6 separate regions of the Homo sapiens genome follow, and all the other regions are linked to region 6. The links are contacts of gene promoters, found by promoter capture Hi-C in blood cells and fetal thymus (Javierre and others, 2016). All regions are on one chromosome and are shown on one strand. The core of a region is centred on a gene start or on the middle of the fragment in contact, and the rest is flanking DNA. Distances in the headings are between cores, read along the strand shown. Region 1 holds the start of PARP15 (poly(ADP-ribose) polymerase family member 15). Region 2 overlaps KPNA1 (karyopherin subunit alpha 1). Region 3 has its middle 13 kb from the start of CSTA. Region 4 overlaps MIX23 (mitochondrial matrix import factor 23). Region 5 overlaps CASR (calcium sensing receptor). Region 6 holds the start of HCLS1 (hematopoietic cell-specific Lyn substrate 1).

The links. Contacts are between HindIII fragments. The CHiCAGO score rates a contact against its expected background, and 5 or more counts as called.
Region 1: the fragment with the promoter of PARP15 here is called in contact with the fragment with the promoter of HCLS1 in region 6 in 1 of 17 cell types (total CD4 T cells); the score reaches 6.5 in total CD4 T cells.
Region 2: a contact is called between a fragment that was not itself captured here and the fragment with the promoter of HCLS1 in region 6, in 3 of 17 cell types (naive CD4 T cells, monocytes and total CD8 T cells). The highest score is 6.7, in naive CD4 T cells.
Region 3: a contact is called between a fragment that was not itself captured here and the fragment with the promoter of HCLS1 in region 6, in 1 of 17 cell types (M0 macrophages). The highest score is 5.9, in M0 macrophages.
Region 4: a fragment that was not itself captured here is called in contact with the fragment with the promoter of HCLS1 in region 6 in 3 of 17 cell types (activated CD4 T cells, erythroblasts and naive CD8 T cells); the score reaches 7.0 in activated CD4 T cells.
Region 5: a contact is called between a fragment that was not itself captured here and the fragment with the promoter of HCLS1 in region 6, in 1 of 17 cell types (erythroblasts). The highest score is 5.1, in erythroblasts.

The regions. Positions count from the first base shown.
Region 1 is chr3:122,576,384-122,579,083 of GRCh38, reverse strand. It overlaps PARP15 (poly(ADP-ribose) polymerase family member 15), which reads right to left and starts at 1,434. Exons shown (of 12, transcript NM_001113523.3): 1 at 1,231-1,434. The coding sequence starts at 1,416. RefSeq lists a silencer at 1,078-1,127 and an enhancer at 1,188-1,467. The HindIII fragment of the contact is 6,929 bases long and covers 1-2,700 here.
Region 2 is chr3:122,509,779-122,512,478 of GRCh38, reverse strand. The region is part of intron 1 of KPNA1 (karyopherin subunit alpha 1); the gene reads left to right. Among named protein-coding and RNA genes, the nearest start is that of KPNA1, 3.8 kb to the left of the region's middle. The HindIII fragment of the contact is 2,261 bases long and covers 255-2,515 here.
Region 3 is chr3:122,310,518-122,313,217 of GRCh38, reverse strand. No RefSeq gene overlaps it. Among named protein-coding and RNA genes, the nearest start is that of CSTA, 13 kb to the left of the region's middle. The HindIII fragment of the contact is 3,199 bases long and covers 1-2,700 here.
Region 4 is chr3:122,364,928-122,367,627 of GRCh38, reverse strand. The region is part of intron 3 of MIX23 (mitochondrial matrix import factor 23); the gene reads left to right. Among named protein-coding and RNA genes, the nearest start is that of MIX23, 17 kb to the left of the region's middle. RefSeq lists a cis regulatory region at 1,906-1,919 and an enhancer at 1,840-1,984. The HindIII fragment of the contact is 6,376 bases long and covers 1-2,700 here.
Region 5 is chr3:122,234,557-122,237,256 of GRCh38, reverse strand. The region is part of intron 1 of CASR (calcium sensing receptor); the gene reads right to left. Among named protein-coding and RNA genes, the nearest start is that of CASR, 52 kb to the right of the region's middle. The HindIII fragment of the contact is 3,458 bases long and covers 1-2,700 here.
Region 6 is chr3:121,659,635-121,662,334 of GRCh38, reverse strand. HCLS1 (hematopoietic cell-specific Lyn substrate 1) reads left to right here and starts at 1,432. Exons shown (of 14, transcript NM_005335.6): 1 at 1,432-1,515. RefSeq lists enhancers at 1,160-1,209, 1,400-1,589. The HindIII fragment of the contact is 5,970 bases long and covers 635-2,700 here.

The sequences.
Region 1 (2,700 bases), core at 185-2,684, 920 kb before region 6:
ATTTCAATTTGTACACTATTCTTAACATACACACACAAAAAAGTTTAAAAAGTCATGTATTGTAATTGTTTTTAAAAGTTATTCTAGTGACTTTCCAGCTTAAAATTTGGAGGCAAATTTTCCTTAAGAGGATATGAAGTACCAGTATCTACAATTGTTGAAAAGCTGTTACATATGTCCCACCAATTCACAATTTAATATCATATACATTACATACTCAAATTTTCAATCTTTCACAGCACAGTAGGTTAGACCATGTCAACACCACCTAAAGATATCAGCTCTCTGTAATTTATTAATTTAATGCAATCCCAATAAAAATTCCAAAGAGCTTTTCTTTTTTTTTTTTAAACTGATCATACATCAGAAAAGTTCATAAGGAAAAATAAACAACAAGAATAGCTAGGAAAATAGTGACAAGGAAGCACTCTCTAGGAAGACTAGCCCTGACATTAAAACATACAGCAAAGCCTCTCTAAAGCAGATGAATAAACGGGTCAATGGATGAAAATAGAAGGTCCAGAAATACCCGAACCACATATGAAAGTCTAGTACATGATAAAGCTGGTATCTCAAGTTACTGGGACAGTGACGACCTTTATAATAAATGGTGTTGGGACACTTGATACCCATTTGAAAAAAAATAATTAGATTCACTCCTCAAACCACACACAATAACACACTCCAAATGTATTATAGATCTAAATGTAAAAAATACATCAGTTCAAGTACTAGAAGCAAGCATGAGTGAACTCTTCTATAACTTGGGTGTAGGGAAGAGTATGACTAAAAGTCATATATTAAAATATGACTAAAAGTCTAGACGTCATAAAATAAAAGACTGGTAAGTCTTGCCACACAAAATTTAAAATATTTGCATGGCAAAGAGAAACAAAAGCCCCCCATAAGCAAACTCAAAAAACAAAAAATAAATTGGGAGGACATATTCATAACACATATCACGAATAAAGGACTCATATCCTTTCAAACTTTATAAAGAACTTTTAAATTTTAAGGGAAAAAAAAAAAAAACCACCAGAAATGCTAAGGAAAAAGAAGCAGCACGCATCCCCCTCTTCCGGAACAGGGAAGTCAGTGTAGTCGGCGCCCCCTAGAAGAGAGGGTTGTGCGTGGCGTGGGGTCTCTGCGCCCGCTCGGGCTGCTGGGTCTTGCGGGCCCCAGGCTCAGCCCTGCTGTCCCCTTCCCGCACCCGTCCCCCGCGCTCCTCACCATACTCCGGGAGGAAGAGCGCCGGGAGGCCTTCCGCGCCCCACGGTTCCCGGCCGGCAGCACGCTCCCCGCCTCCCGATCTCGTCCGGCTCTGGAAGTAACACCTGCAACTCCGTGCATAAGTTCTCTGGGGGTCGGAGCCCCTGGACTCAGAGCAGCGGCAGGAAGGGGGCCTGGCGCAGCCATCCTCAGCTCGCTGGGACTGCAGTTGCGCCCCACCCAACAGGCTTGTGCCTCGAACTTCTTTTCTCTGAAAACCGCTTCCGTCAAAGATTGAGGCCTCGAGTTTGCGAACAGCTGCCTCAGGATTGTGTCGCCCTTTGGGACAGACGTTACTGCCAGACAAATCCTGGGTCAAAATCCTGAGGTCTGCAATTTTATTAGTTATGTAGCCTCAGTCAATAGCATCTGTACAGTGGGCACAGCCATAACTATTTCATGTTATTATAATGAAGATTAAATGAGATAAAGTCTGTAGAATGCCTGGCACATTAAAACACAGGAATCAGTATTCCTTTCCTTTTCTGTTGGGCATCCCACTCCTTTCCCCCCAATTCTCCCTACACACCCATATTTAGAAAAATACACTGGGTTCTCTCCTGTGCTCCCTAAGCCAGGGCTGGAGTCAGGTTCCCCTCTGGCCCAACAGGGCATTATTTAATTCAATCAACGCGTATTGAAGGCCTTTGATATGCCTGGCACTGTGTTAAGATTATAAAGATGAATTAGACACAGATCCCCTCTCTTTGGAGTGAGGGGTGAAGTAGGAGGTGGAGAAATAAAACATAGATTAATACTGTTACCTGGTGTATCACGAAAAGTCCTGGCAGTATACAGATGGTATACTCAAAATTAATAATTGAAGATAATTTAATAAAGAAATTATTTACACAGGTGTGGGCAAAGGGTTAAGGAAACCATTGAGAGATGGTGAAGTAGCCTCCTCCCCTTACCATCTAGGCTGAAGGGGCAAGGGAGGGGGCATCTCCTGAACTTGGTAAGAGCTATACCAAGTGCCAGCAGGTAGAACCCATGACTGCTTTCGGAAGACAGCCAGGGGAGTATAAGCATCCCAAGTACTCTCTCCGTGTGCCTTCCAATCTCGTGCTGGTACCTCCCACTGCAGAACCCAATGAGTAATCAGAGAATGGAGCTGATGTGGTACTTAGAGGTCAGCCCTCAGTACCACCTCCAAGGCAGAGAGCAGGGTAAAAGGTTTTGGTATCGTATTTGCATTGAGATACATATAAAGTATTAGGATAACAGAAATCAGTGGTTCGTTGTAATTTAGAGACAAGATTGGAGAAAAGTTTCTATAGTAGTGGCATTTCAGTAAGACCTTGCATGATGAGTAGGGGACTTTCTAAGAGGAAAATCAGGTGAAGAATGAGAATGAGGTGTGTCTCTCTCTCCCTCTCTCTCTTCAGAGTTCCCTTTTTCATCATCTGTCATGCAGAGAGCAGCGATGGG
Region 2 (2,700 bases), core at 136-2,635, 850 kb before region 6:
AAGTTCTAGGATTACAGGCATGAGCCACCGCGCCCAGCCGCATTATGTTACTTTATAAAGTGGTTCTCGTAGAAGTTTCTTCACAGAACTATGATTTAATATACATCTTATCTAGAGCTGATACTTACCAAAGGGGCCATTAAAAACATCTTTTCTTCATTAATATCTAATGAAGAAATTTCTAATTTATGTATTGGTTCCTATAAAATACAGACCTTAGAGACAAATTCTTCCTAAGACCCCAGTATTAAGCTTTTTTTTTTTAAACTAATGATTGGTTTTATTAGATTATTTTTGTTTTGTAAGCCATCCTGTTTCTCTATACTTTGACTGTCAGGAGTCTCAGAGCTGTGTTCAATTTTTATAATTTTCTTTAGTCTCAACTATGTTAAGAATTATTTTATACGTAACCTGGAATTGCTGTCAGTTGTTTCTTGCATTATTTTCTTTATTCTCTGTTGCTCTCAATGGTCCTTTTACCTTTTCCCTTTTCCCTTTACATTTGAGAATAGGATTATATCTTATTCTTTGCATCTTCAGTGTTTTAGCACAGTGTTTGTTGAATTAATGATAAAATAGAGTTTTAATGATTTATGATGTCTGTGCTTTTAAGTCTACCAGATTGTTTTTAGATGTATGAGTACTGTGTATAAAATCAGTTAAGACCTTTGATTGGTCTTGCAAGTAAAGATGACTGACCTAGTGATAAAGATAACTCCTTGTTTTGTTTTAAGGTATCTTTGTACTTTGCATGGTGTTATGAATTTAGCCATAATAGGGAAGAAAACACTGGAAATGGTAAACAGTTAAATTAGCTGATTTGGGCTGATTTCTGTCTTTTGCTGCAGTAAGCAGGAGATGGCCTGAGGCCAACTGAGGGCCAGATAGGGCCTGCATTAGAAAATTTTGAGGTTGTACATTGGAAGAGTAGGGATGAAGACTGTGGGAATGTATGTTTCTTTCTTTCTTTTTTTTAAAGATGTTACAAACCTACAAAACAACATGAAAAAATGGTTCTGTCCAAGTGTTGTAGACTAATTGGGACAGTTCTTGAAAGCAGGCAGTAATCCAGAATGTGGATAATGGAGATAATCTCCTTCATATTAACAAGAATAATGCTGCCCTTCATATACAAAGATAAGTCTGCTTACTCATCATGATTGTTTTTCCAGCGTGAGGAGGGATATGTGCTGAGTCCATGAGTGCCTATATACTCTGTGAGCAACAAGGCAGGTTGGGGTCAGAATAGGCAGCTTGGGGTCAGAATAGGCAGCTTGGGGTCAGCTAGGGAACAGAAAGACCCGCTGAAAGTACTCTGACATCTATTGATGGGTCAGGTTCTGCATCAGGTGCTTTCACTTACTTGTTCTTGCAAAACCATTTTGAGGAGGTGATTACGTGTGCAAGGTGATTGGGTAACTCGCCTTACTTCACAAAGTAGTGGAGTTGGGATTCAAATAGGGCTGTTTGTACTGTGTTCACATTGATCGTTAAAGATTGGTTTTAGCCGTTCAGTCTCTTTGGCAGAACAAACTAGATGTAGTTTAACACCATGAAATAATACTGAAGATCTAATATAACCGTCGTGAGATTGTTCAAGTTCCTTGTTTTATCAACATTAAAAAAATAAAATTTTGGAATTAGAATACCTGAAAAGCAGCTGTTCCCTGTCCCAGCCTCTGCACTTGAAAAGCTACCATTTTCTTTCTTCTAGCTGTTTCCTCTTGTGTTTGCTTTCATATTTATAAATACAGTGACTTGCTTTTATTGCTATATCATGATATAGCAATTATAGATATTATTGGCTTTCGTCTAAGCAAGATGTTCCTTAGTGTTTCACATATATATTCACCTCACCTGCCATATGCACACACTGTCTCTACCATCCTCCAAATATAGTTATCACAGGTGTGTCTACTAAACCAATATTTAGTGTTTACAATATTGTAACTCTATAAATGTTCACAGCTGACCCATGTAGAGTACTGTGATATCATTTCTTCTCTTAATAAATTTTTGTTTTTCTACAAGTTAGTATTTTTTGTTGTTGTTTGCTTCATTTCCTGAGACAGCTAACCTGGAACCTCTTAATGCAATTAGGACTGGTTACTTTCTAGGCCTATTTCATAGTTGTTATCCAGGGACTTCTCTTTTCATCATCCTTAAACTTCTTTGCCCTCTTTTGTACTGGTTCCCCTGTTTACTGTTTCCTGTATTTTCTTTCTTGGTTTACTTATTTCCTTGGAGTACATTTTTTAGTAGCTTTCTGAGAAAGGATACATGGAAAACAAAAACTTCCTGACATCTTACATGACTGAAAAAAATCTTTATTCTTCCTTCGCATTTGATCAGTAATTTGTCTGGGTATAAAATTCTGAGTTGAAAGTAACTTCTACTTCAAGTTTGCAAGTCATAGTTCTATTGTTTTCTTTCTTCCAGGGTTACTCTTGAAATCCAAAGCCAATCTGATTCTTTGTTTGTATGTGATCTTCCTTTACCCCAATCTCTAGAAGCTTTTAGGATATTTTTAACCCTCAAAATTCCATGATGATGTGTCTAGGTATGGGTATTTTTTTGTTTAAGGGCATTCCATGGACCTTTATAAGCTGGGAGTTCATGTCCTTTAGTTCTCGAAAGTTTTTGTTATTATTTGGATGTTAGGCAAAAAGAATTTTAGAATGAATTATGCTTCTCAGTTCT
Region 3 (2,700 bases), core at 116-2,615, 650 kb before region 6:
TCCTCTTGCACCTCTTTCTCATTCTCATTCTTGCTCCTGTCTCCTTGTTCATACAATGCCCCTTGAAAAGGATGTCATTCCTTCTGTTCTCCATTAATCTACATGCAATACTGCTTTCAAAAACCACACTACCCAAAGCCTTCTGTGGTTTCCTCTAGTTCTTGGTTTGTACTACATATTCCTGTTATCTCAGTTATTACACATATATTTTCTGTTTATCTTCTTGCTGATCTGATTATAATCTCTTCCATGGCAGAAACTGTTGTCTTGATTGTTAGCCATCACATCTCCCAGATTATGAAACACAGCAGCTGCCCAGCAAATATGTGAACAAATTCATAGATCTCACCACTTTCTCATTGGGAGAAGAGGGCAACCAGCCAACATGGACTTCTGGAGTCCTTGAAGGGCATTGGATAAACATGTCTTTGTCAAGTTTTAGGCCAGGCGCTGTGGCTCACGCCTGTAATCCCAGCACTTTGGGAGGCTGAGGCGGGTGGATCATGAGGTCAGGAGTTCAAGACCTGCCTGGCCAACATAGTGAAATCCCGTCTCTACTAAAAATACAAAAATTAGCCGGGCACGGTGGCGCCTGCCTGTAGTCTCAGCTACTCAGGAGGCTGAAGCAGGAGAATCGCTTGAACCTGGGAGGTGGAGATTGTAGTGAGCCGAGATCACGCCACTGCACTCCAGCTTGGGCAACAGAGTGAGACTTCGTCAAAAAAAAAAAAAGAAAAAAAAAAAAAGAATCCAAAGTAAAGAAAATACAACAGAACAGCCAGGAGTTCAAGGTTATATTCCCTGATGATCACAGGGCTCCAGTTTCTCTGCATTGCTGGCCAAGGGATGGCCCAGATGCTTGGACAGTTTGATCAGTAACTTAACAAGTCTGTTCGTATAAGTGAGTTGGTTGGCAGTCTCTATACATGGCCTGAATTAAGCCTGAGGCCTGGTAGTTTGATCCCAGCCAGCACAGTTATGGACCTGCTGGGTTGCACAGTTCCAGGAGCATTATTCATACCGTATTCTAAAATGGAGCTCAAGTTCGTGGGATGTTTTACTAAGAATATTTTATTATTTTTCAGTAAAAAAAGGTATGAAAAAAAGAAGGCTTTTGTGGAATGGCTTTAACTTCATCCCAATTTTCAAAAGAGGGCTTTCTGGAGGTAGAGTACCACAGCAGTTAACAGGGTAGTGCAGGCCAGATGGACAGAAGTGAGGGGAGTCGGTGTAACTGACAAGCACTGGGAATTCCTGAATGAGAGAGCTGAGCATGTCCCTTTGGAGTGAGGGACAGCTGAATTCAATAATCTGCATAGCTGTGTAAACCTGGGCAGGTGACTTCACCTTTCTGAGCATCTGTTTCCTTGTCTGTAAAATGAAGATAATAATAACTACCTCACAGGGTTGTGAGAATTAAATGGAAAATGTATGTAGAAAATTTAACTCCGTGTCTGGTATATATGTAGTTAGTGTTCCTAAATGGAAACATATTTTTGTTTCCAGACACCTTATAAACTATAGCAACCATCCTTACGTTTTTTGTCCTCAGCTGCATTGTGAAGGGTCTAGAAATATAAAGGGAGATGAAGAAAGTAAAACCGGATAGAAGGATGCATTTCGATTTTTGGGTTAATTTTTCAATATTTGAAATAGAAGAGATAAAAGTCTCATCACTATAACCAAGCCAGGTTGGATACCTAAGTAGTTTTTCTTCTTTCCTTTCATAATGTAAAATGTGGCACTTAGTAGAGATGTTGGGTGGATAATATTGGGTGGTCTCTTGGTTACAGGGTCTACTTCTGACTGACTCCTTTACCTTCTCCTGTATATTGTCATCCTTTCACAGTCCATGCCTTGGTCTTCTCATTTCCCAAGTCAGAAAGATGGGTGTTATCCTCCAGTCTTCTTTCATGCTCAGCTCTCTCATCCAGGAATTCCCAGTGCTTGTCAGTTACATCGACTCCCCTCACTTCTGTCCATCTGGCCTGCACTACCCTGGCTCAGGCCATGGTTATCTCACCGCTGAAGAACAGCAATAGCTTCCCCTGGCCTCCTCCTGCAACCATGCTCCTCTTTCTACACACAATATCCAAATATTTCTTCTAGAAAGCAAAGCCAATTGTATTATTTCCTTAATGAAAGTCCTTCAATAGTTTTCCGTTATCCTTAGAGTGTACTTCTCAGTCTTTAGCACAGCCCTCTCTGACCTGGCTCCTATCAAGTTCTCCTAAGGTGCCCTATTCCTCTTGCTTCTTTGCTTAGGTTGGAAACACTTCCTTTTGCTTCCGTTTGCCAGCCTGATTTCTATTGATCCTTCATGCCTGTTATGGTTTGAACTGTGTCCCCACCTAAATTCATATGTTGAAGTTCTAACCCACAGTACCTCACAGTGTGACCGTATTTGTGTGCCCAGATTTGGCAATGACAGGGGAGCTCTTCTTCATCACATTCAAAATTTTTCACTAGTTATGCCTAAGACCAGTGCTGTTCCTGCTTCTGATACCATTCCTCTACCTTATCTGACCTACAAGCCTATGTGAGAAGGTGAGGCTGTCAGATTTCTCCTGAAATAAATGAGACAGAGCAGAGCCTGAAGAGAGAGGGTGGGGTCAGCAGTTACGAAGTCTAGGACAAGTAGTTAGACCAGATGTTTACACAACAGGTTCTTCATGACTGAACCTGTGAGCCAGGACATTC
Region 4 (2,700 bases), core at 10-2,509, 710 kb before region 6:
TAAAAGTTGCTAGGGATCTTTGGCTTTTTCTTGGACATGACTTTTTCCCATTTCCTCCCCTATCCCTGCAGTGTTTTTACTTTTAAGAAAATAGCAAGTACCTACCTAGGGATGTGTCAGAGGAAGCCTTATTTTCCCAAATCAACTATAATGTAGATAGGGTGTAGACTTCAGAATACAGTTAATGCAGCAGAACTGTTTCTTTACAGCACTTGTATGTGACGTGTCAAGGAAACAATAGAAAAATACAGCATATTTTATTATGTGGGATTTATTGCTGTCTTTCTTTTGAGGGGACTCTTAGGGGGTAACTTTTTATCTTGTATAATTTCAAACTTACCAAAAAGTTGTAAGAATAGTGTAAGGAACTCCCATGTGCCCTTTACCTATATTCACTTATTGTTTATATGTTGCCCCACCTGCTTTACAGTTCATTCTCTTCACCCTCCCTCTCTCCTTCTCTTCACCCTCCCTCTCTCCTTCTCTTCATCCTTCCCTGCCTTCCTCCCTCTCCCTGTCTCCCCACACACCTGTATGCATAAATACAGTTTTTTCATGAACCATTTTGAGACTATGTTATACACATTGTACCACTTTACCCTTAAACTCATTAGTTATTTCTAAGAACAGGGACTTTTCCTACAGGACCAGTGTACAATTATCAAAATCATGGTTTTTTTTTTGTTTTTTGAGATGGGGTCTCACTCTGTCACCTAGGCTGGAGTGCAGTGTTGCAATCTCAGCTTACTGCAACCTCTGGTTCTGGGGCTCAAGCAATCCTGCCTCAGCCTCCCCAGTAGCTGGGACTACGGGCGCGAACCACCACACCCAGCTTATTTTTTGTATTTTGGGTAGAGATGGAGTCTCACCATGTTACACGGGTTTATCTCAAACTCCTGAGCTCAAAGTGATCCACCTTCCTCAGCCTCCCAAAGTGCTAGGATTATAGGTGTGAGCCATCACACCTGACTTCATGTTTGTATTTTAAGATGGCATAATAGGTGACTTACGGATCCTTGTGGGATTGAGTCATGCTTTTCATACTGCACAGTCATGAAGTTTGCCCTTTGTTTAGTAGATGTAGCTGAACTTTGAAAAGGGGACCTCGTCATCTATTGAAAACTATTAGTAGAAAAGAAAAGAAACCTCTTTCCTTGTAGCTGGCTGCACACAAGGTGAGTAGGCCAGGCTGCTGCACTTTTTCGATCATTCCGCCAATTCTGGATGTCTCACTGGATCCAGGACTCAGCCACTGTCTTTGCTGCTCTCTTTGTTCATGACTACTGCGTCAGGTCTGTATTCCATACCTGCTCATGCCACAGGCACTGGTGGATCCCTTGGACAGTGACCTTATGCAGTGATGTTGATCTTACTCCCCTTGCTGTTCATGAAGGCATATAGATTATTTATTTATTTATTTATTTATTTATTTATTTATTTATTTATTTTTGAGATGGAGTCTCGCACTATCGCCTGGGCTGGAGTGCAGTGGTGCAATCTTGGCTCACTGAAACTTCCGCCTCCCAGGTTCAAGAGATTCTCCTGCCTCAGCCTCCCTAGTAGCTGGGGTTACAGGTGCCTGCCACCACGTCCAGCTAATTTTTTTTTGTATTTTTAGTAGAGACAGGGTTTCACCATGTTGGCCAGACTGGTCTCGAACTCCTGACCTTGTGATCTGCCCGTCTCAGCTTCCCAAAGTGCTGGGATTACAGGCATGAGCCACCGTGTCCAGCCGGCATATAGATAATTTATATAAAACTGGTGAAAGTCTAGTAATTTTGGAGTTTGTATTTCAACGCCCTTGAAGGTGTTGACAAAGGAAACTGCAGGGCAAAGGCTGTTAAATTGGAAACTGAAAAGTCACTGTTTGCAGATCAAGTCAAACAACAGAGTGACTCATTAGTGGAGAGCAAAGTTCAAAACTCTACTGAGTGTTTGGGAATGATTGTGACACACAATTTGCTCAGCCTTGAGATCTGCCCTTGTGTCTTTAGGGCCCAGATAGAATCACCAGGATGACCACTGCAAGGAGGGTTTAGAAACCAATCAGTGAGTTGCATGAGGTTTGCTTTCTAGCTTGATAACATATAGGGTTGGGGGTAACCATGGGGTAGTACATAAGCAAATAAGGAAATGTGAATTTTTTTTTTCAATTTTCAAGTTTGCTATGAAGATTATGGAATCAGAGAGAGCTCTTGGAGATGGTACAGCTCTACCTCTTCATTTTCTATCTGAGGAAAAAGACTCAGAGATACTTGAGATACTAACTGACACCCCCAAAGCCACAAGCTAGTAAGTGGTAGAACTGGGACTTTAACCCATCTCTTCTGACCCTGCATTCAGTCAGTTTCTTTAAGTTGTGACTAATAGTCAGATACTTTAGTGAGTATATTTCATTTATAGACAGATGCCAGTCAAAAAATCCCCACTAGTTTACCTGAATATTTAACTCAAAAAAAGCACCTTCGTTGCTGGACCTCTATAACTGCTGTCACATGTTAGTGGCCTTAAGTTTACCTGTTGAAGACCTACAGTCTCAAAGACAACTGTCTCAAAGGTGACAGTTTGTTGGTAGCACTGATAAAATTGTATTAGAAATTGGCTGTAATATCTGCAATGTTGTAGAATTTTAAAAAATAATCCAAAGGCAGACAGCTCTGAGGAAATAAATCCCACCTACCTTGGTGGCTTTGTAACCTT
Region 5 (2,700 bases), core at 62-2,561, 580 kb before region 6:
ACTCCTGTAATCCCAGCTACTTGGGAGGCTGAGGCAGAAGAATCGCTTGAACCCGGGTGGTGGAGGTTGCAGTGAGCCAAGATCACACCACTGCACTCCAGCTTGGTGACAGAGCAAGACTCTGTCAAAAAAAAAAAAAAAAAAGCATAAGTACTGTTAGCTACAATTAGCATCTCTACAAATTTCCAGGCCCAAAATAACAAGCCTCCAGTGTTTCATTACCCCATTTTAAAGAAGATTTTACCTCACAGTTAACTAAAATCACATCTATTTTAAAATTAAGGCCATTTATTCTTGCCTAATTTACCACTGCAATGAAAGGCCAGAGACAAAAATTTTCATTAATTTAAAGATAGAATCACCTTCACTTTTTTTTCAGGCTTAACTATCCAAATTTCTTTCAAACCTTTCTGCTTAGGACTACTTCATATTTTTCTAGATATATTTGTTAATATGCCAAGAACCTATTCTAAGTTCTTCATGTCATTTTTTAGAGCATGTTAACAGAAATTGGTACCATGATTTGGGGCTGACCTGAGGTTAAAAGAATTTGCGTCCCACTGGAGATTTCAAGATGTGTTTGTTAGCTTTTGTCCATAACTCCACAATTTGGCTGACTCATGTCCATATTCTGGCCTTCTAGGGCCTCCTTGATTTCCTAATATACATTTGCTTGAGTAGTCCCTTCAGAACCTATATCTGTTTTTTTAATCCCCAAATATCTCAGATTGAAAATGTTCAAACTGAATTTTATTTTTGAAGAACTATGCCTCCCCACTAAATTCATTATGAATTTTGTTCCCATTTTTGAAGGAACATGTCTCCCTGTCAGGAAATGTCAGGAAATATGTGTTGATTTATTAGCTGGCCCCTTCAGCTTTGCCCGGAAGAATCATGAACCAGCATTTAAAGAATGAATTTTGGAACATGCTACATTCAGTTGCCTCTATGAGAAGATTCTCCATTGCTAAGGACACCTGAAGCTGTTCTGGAGGAAGACTGTCTGGAATAAACTTTCCCCAAATAAGCCCATGGATGTTTCTAACCCTGACTTTGATGCTGGGTCAGCCAATATATCCTCACACATGGTGGAAACCCATTCAATTGATTTCTTTTAATGTGGTAACCCTCAGAAAGAAACTTCTTGTTACTGTAAAAAGAGCCTCCTATCTGTTGGGCATGGGGCCGGGTGCAGGGAAGTGAGTCTTAAATTGTGGTCCTTGGACGAGCATCAGCACCATCACTTGGGAACTTGTTAGAAACACGAATCCCATCCCAACCTACTGAATCAGAAACTCTGGGTGTGGGACCAGCAACCTGTGTTTTAAGAAGTTTGAAAGCCATTGCTAGACCGTCTTTCATATGCATCTGTCCAGGGTCATATTCTGTTCTGAGCTCTAAAAATTGTGTTTCCTAAAAATGATTGTTTAAATGTAATTTTATTTATGTATTATCATTTTTAGAGACATGGTCTCACTATGTTGCCCAGGTTGGAGTGCAGTGCCATGATCATAGCTCACCGCAGTCTAGAACTCCTGGGCTCGTGATCCTCCTGCCTCAGATTCCTGAGTAACTAAAACTATAGGAACATGCCACTACCCCAGGCTATTTTTTAAAAAATTTTGTAGAGACAGGACCTTGCTGTATTGCCCAGGATTCTTCTGATACTATTACTTTTCTCCAAGGATAACACAGCCAAACAAAAATGTATTTTGAATGGATACACAACAGTTTCCTGTCAATGTCAATTCATTCTTCGGTTTCCCTGAAACCTTTCTCCTGCAAAATAACTGCTAACATCTTATGAAACCAGTATTCCAGGAAAGCACAGTTCAGAAGTCATTGCTGTAAAGTTAGGGTAACTTTCTGAATCTATAATCAATATGCATGGTCTGTGAACTAGAGAAAATGGCCACTAACCATAGATAGACTACTTCTCACCCTCTCTTCCCAGCCACATGCAGGGGATTTACCTATGTGGTTATCATTTGCGTCTACCTTTCCGAGCAGAGTCTTGGGTGCTCTACTTTACACTTAAGTCTTTCATTATTAATTCCCTTTTTAAATTTGTGGAATGAGTATATATTCTTCACAATCAATCCATCAGTCCCAGATGGGAAGGTCTGGGACCCTGTTTACCTGCAACTGTTAGAAGTCACAGCACCTGTGACTGTTAGAAGTGTCCAGCACTCCCTGGTCCTTCTCTACTCTCCTGCGAGCCCTTTCTATGAGCTCTTCAGGGGCTCTTTCTTTGGGAACTGAAATGGTCCTAAACATTCCACAATCTGTGCTGATGCAGTGCACTCTCAGTGTCTCTCTGCCTTCTTCGGCTTTGCCCAGAAGAATCAGGAACCAGCATTTAAAAAATAAATCCTGGAACATACTACATTCAGTTGTCTCTATGAGAAGATTCTCTGTTGCTAATGACACCCGAAGCTGGTCCGGAGGAACACTGTCTCAGATAAACTTTCCCCAAAGAAGCCCACACATGTTTCTATAAACCTGACTTTGAAGTTGGATTAGTCCACATAGCCTGAGCCTCAGTGAGTGACTCCTGTCCAGCTGGTCAGGGTAAGAGATGACTAGGGTCAGCCTGCTATACAGAGGCCTTACAAATAACTCTTTCCACTCTGATTCTTCCATTACTTATTTGAAATAACTAAATTCCATTTGAAATAAATAAAATTCCATCCTCTCATG
Region 6 (2,700 bases), core at 183-2,682:
ATACACCTCACTACCTCATCAGTAATGAACTTGTGACATTTGCTAAGGAAAGATGGGACTTCTTGGTGTCATCTCTGATTAATTTCTATATTTTCTCTAGAGAACTATGTACCTGGATGGTGTGTCACATCATCTAGTCTAAATCGTATTTTGACACTACATGAGGATTCCAAGTGATTTTTCTCTTGTACAAACGTACTCTTCCTTATCATAACTTTGGTACCACCATGATAAATAGGTAATAAAGTAGAAGGAATAAATAAAGCTCCCCCAGGCATAGAATCCTTAGATTTGGAAGTGACAGAGGCTTCATATTCCTAATGCAGAAAAGTGCCTGTATCATGGGCCAGTTTCATCCAGTCCTGCTTAAACTCCTTGGAGGATGCACCGTTGTGAACAAATCAAGAAGTCCACAATCAAGATTAGGAAAGGCTAGGTCAGATACAATAACAGACACCCTCAAATTCTCAGTAGCCAAAACAAAGGACTATTTTTTAGTGAAAGACTCCAATTCCCCCACATGGTGGATGGGGCTCCACTTGTGTTCTTTCTCACTCAGGGACCCAGTCTGCTGGAGGAGCCAATATGGAGAATTGCAGGTTGCCTTGGGCAGTGGTGAAAGCATGGCAAAGCTTGCAGTGGTCTTACGGCCTCCGCCAGAAAGTGGTATCTGTCACTGGCCAAAACAAGTCACCTGAGTAAGTCTGACTTCAAGAGGGAAGGGAGGGGCAGCAAGTCTTGACACGCAGTAAAACAGGATACCACAAAGACCTTCTTCCATCAGCTGACCAGCACCTGGTTCTTTCAGAATTCTTCCTACGCTCTAGAGCCAAATCTTTAGTTTGTTAGCTCAGACTCCACAGTGCCCCAAACAAGCTAGGAAACTCTCCTTCCATGTCTTGCCTTTTCCCTCATGAGTTATTCTCTTCTGGCATTCAATTGGTCGACGTTTATTTGAACATCTATATGAAAACTCCACTTTTAAGTGCTGTGGGTAATATAGGGGTGAGTTTCTTTTTAAGTCTTATGCTTCAAAACCCACATATAAATCACTTTTCCCATAAAGCCTTTCTTGATGAATACACCCAATACCAAATGCTCTGAATTCCTTTACTGTCTCAAATGTAACTGCCACCCTATTTAGGACACAATGCTGTTCTACAGCATTCTCTAATGTGTTTTCTGGTTGAATGTTTGTTTCTCTCACTGGATTACAAACTCAGAGTCAAAGCAGCATTTTCTATGACTGCTCTATGACCCCCATTGTCAAAACCTTGCAAAAGACCAGGCACAGAAACATTTAATCCTTTTAAAATTTAAGTGTCTAAAGCAGAAGGAACTGACTCAAATTTCAGGAAGTAGCTGTGAGGATGGGGTGGCAGGAAATGACGAAAACCTGAATACGGAACTGAAGCAGCAGCTCAGTTTCTCACTCCGAAGTGGCAGCAGCCAGAGAGGGAGTCGGTGTGGACGCGAGGAGCCGGGCGCTTAGAACAGAGGCTTGCACAGGTGGAGGTGGGTACTCTGAGCCATGGGACAGTTGGGAAACACAGAGTAAGAGTTGAGGAGGAACCTACCTGGCTCTTAGTCCTTGGTGATGGGCAAGGTCACCACTAGTAGGCTTTTATCCTTTTATGGCCAGAAGGCCTGGTTGTGAGTGGTTGTAGCAAATCAGCATCTGGAGATAGAAACAAAAGGGAGGGGCTTAAACCCAAGGCAAGTGTTTCAGGAGCCATCTAGCACCAACATCAAGCAAAGTGTTGCCTGGTTTCTGCTGACAATCTACAACCCACTCTAAGGCCTGTCTCCCCTAGGTACTGAGCTGGGAGGAGGACCACAGGAGACGAAAACAGTGTCTGCCCTTGAAGAGCATATGGTCTCAGGGAAACAAACCCACACAGGAAATGTAACAGATCAGGAAGTAGTCACTGATGTACACTAGCACTGAGTACCAAGTGCTGATGGAGCCCAAGAGAAGGCATGATTGTTCTGCTGGGGCTAGTTTCTGTGTTCGTAGATCACAGAATCTCAGAATGTCAGAAATCAAGGAGACCACAGATGAGCTACGTTAACCCCTTCATTATTTTCCACTGGGAAAATCAGAGATAATTGCTGATTTGCCAAATTATTAAAGTTAGTATTTCTTAATCGCCTGGTCTGATACCTGGCAAATGAGTACCTACTCTGTTGATGCCCTTGTGATGGTCCCTCAGAGGCTTAGTCACAGAGCTGGGGTGACAGCCAGGGCTTCTGACTCCCAGTCTGTGTACTTTGATGCAGGAGGTCAGCATCGCAACAAGGCCTCACCAGATTACTCTCTGGTTCTCACCTCTAGATAGCACTTCTTACCTTTCTGGTTTCTGGTCAATAGGTCAAGGATATTAGATAAATTGTCTCTATTTCAGAAACTCTTTATTTCAAAAATGGGTGAATGGGAGAGTCAGGCTGAGGCCTCAGAGGAGCCACAGGAAGGAGGATGGGACCATCAGTCCTCATTGCTTCCTTATTGCTCATGACTATTTCAGAAACTTCTCCATTCCAGTTTTCTGTGTGACAGTCCTTTTGTTGTTGCACAGCAGCCCAGGAGCCAGGGGATGAGAAGCAGAGGGGTAGTAAGGATGCAGGTAGTAAGGATGTTTTGCTGTCTCCAACCGCATCAGGGAAAGCCAAGCTGCTTTCAGCCATGACTCCCGGCTGACT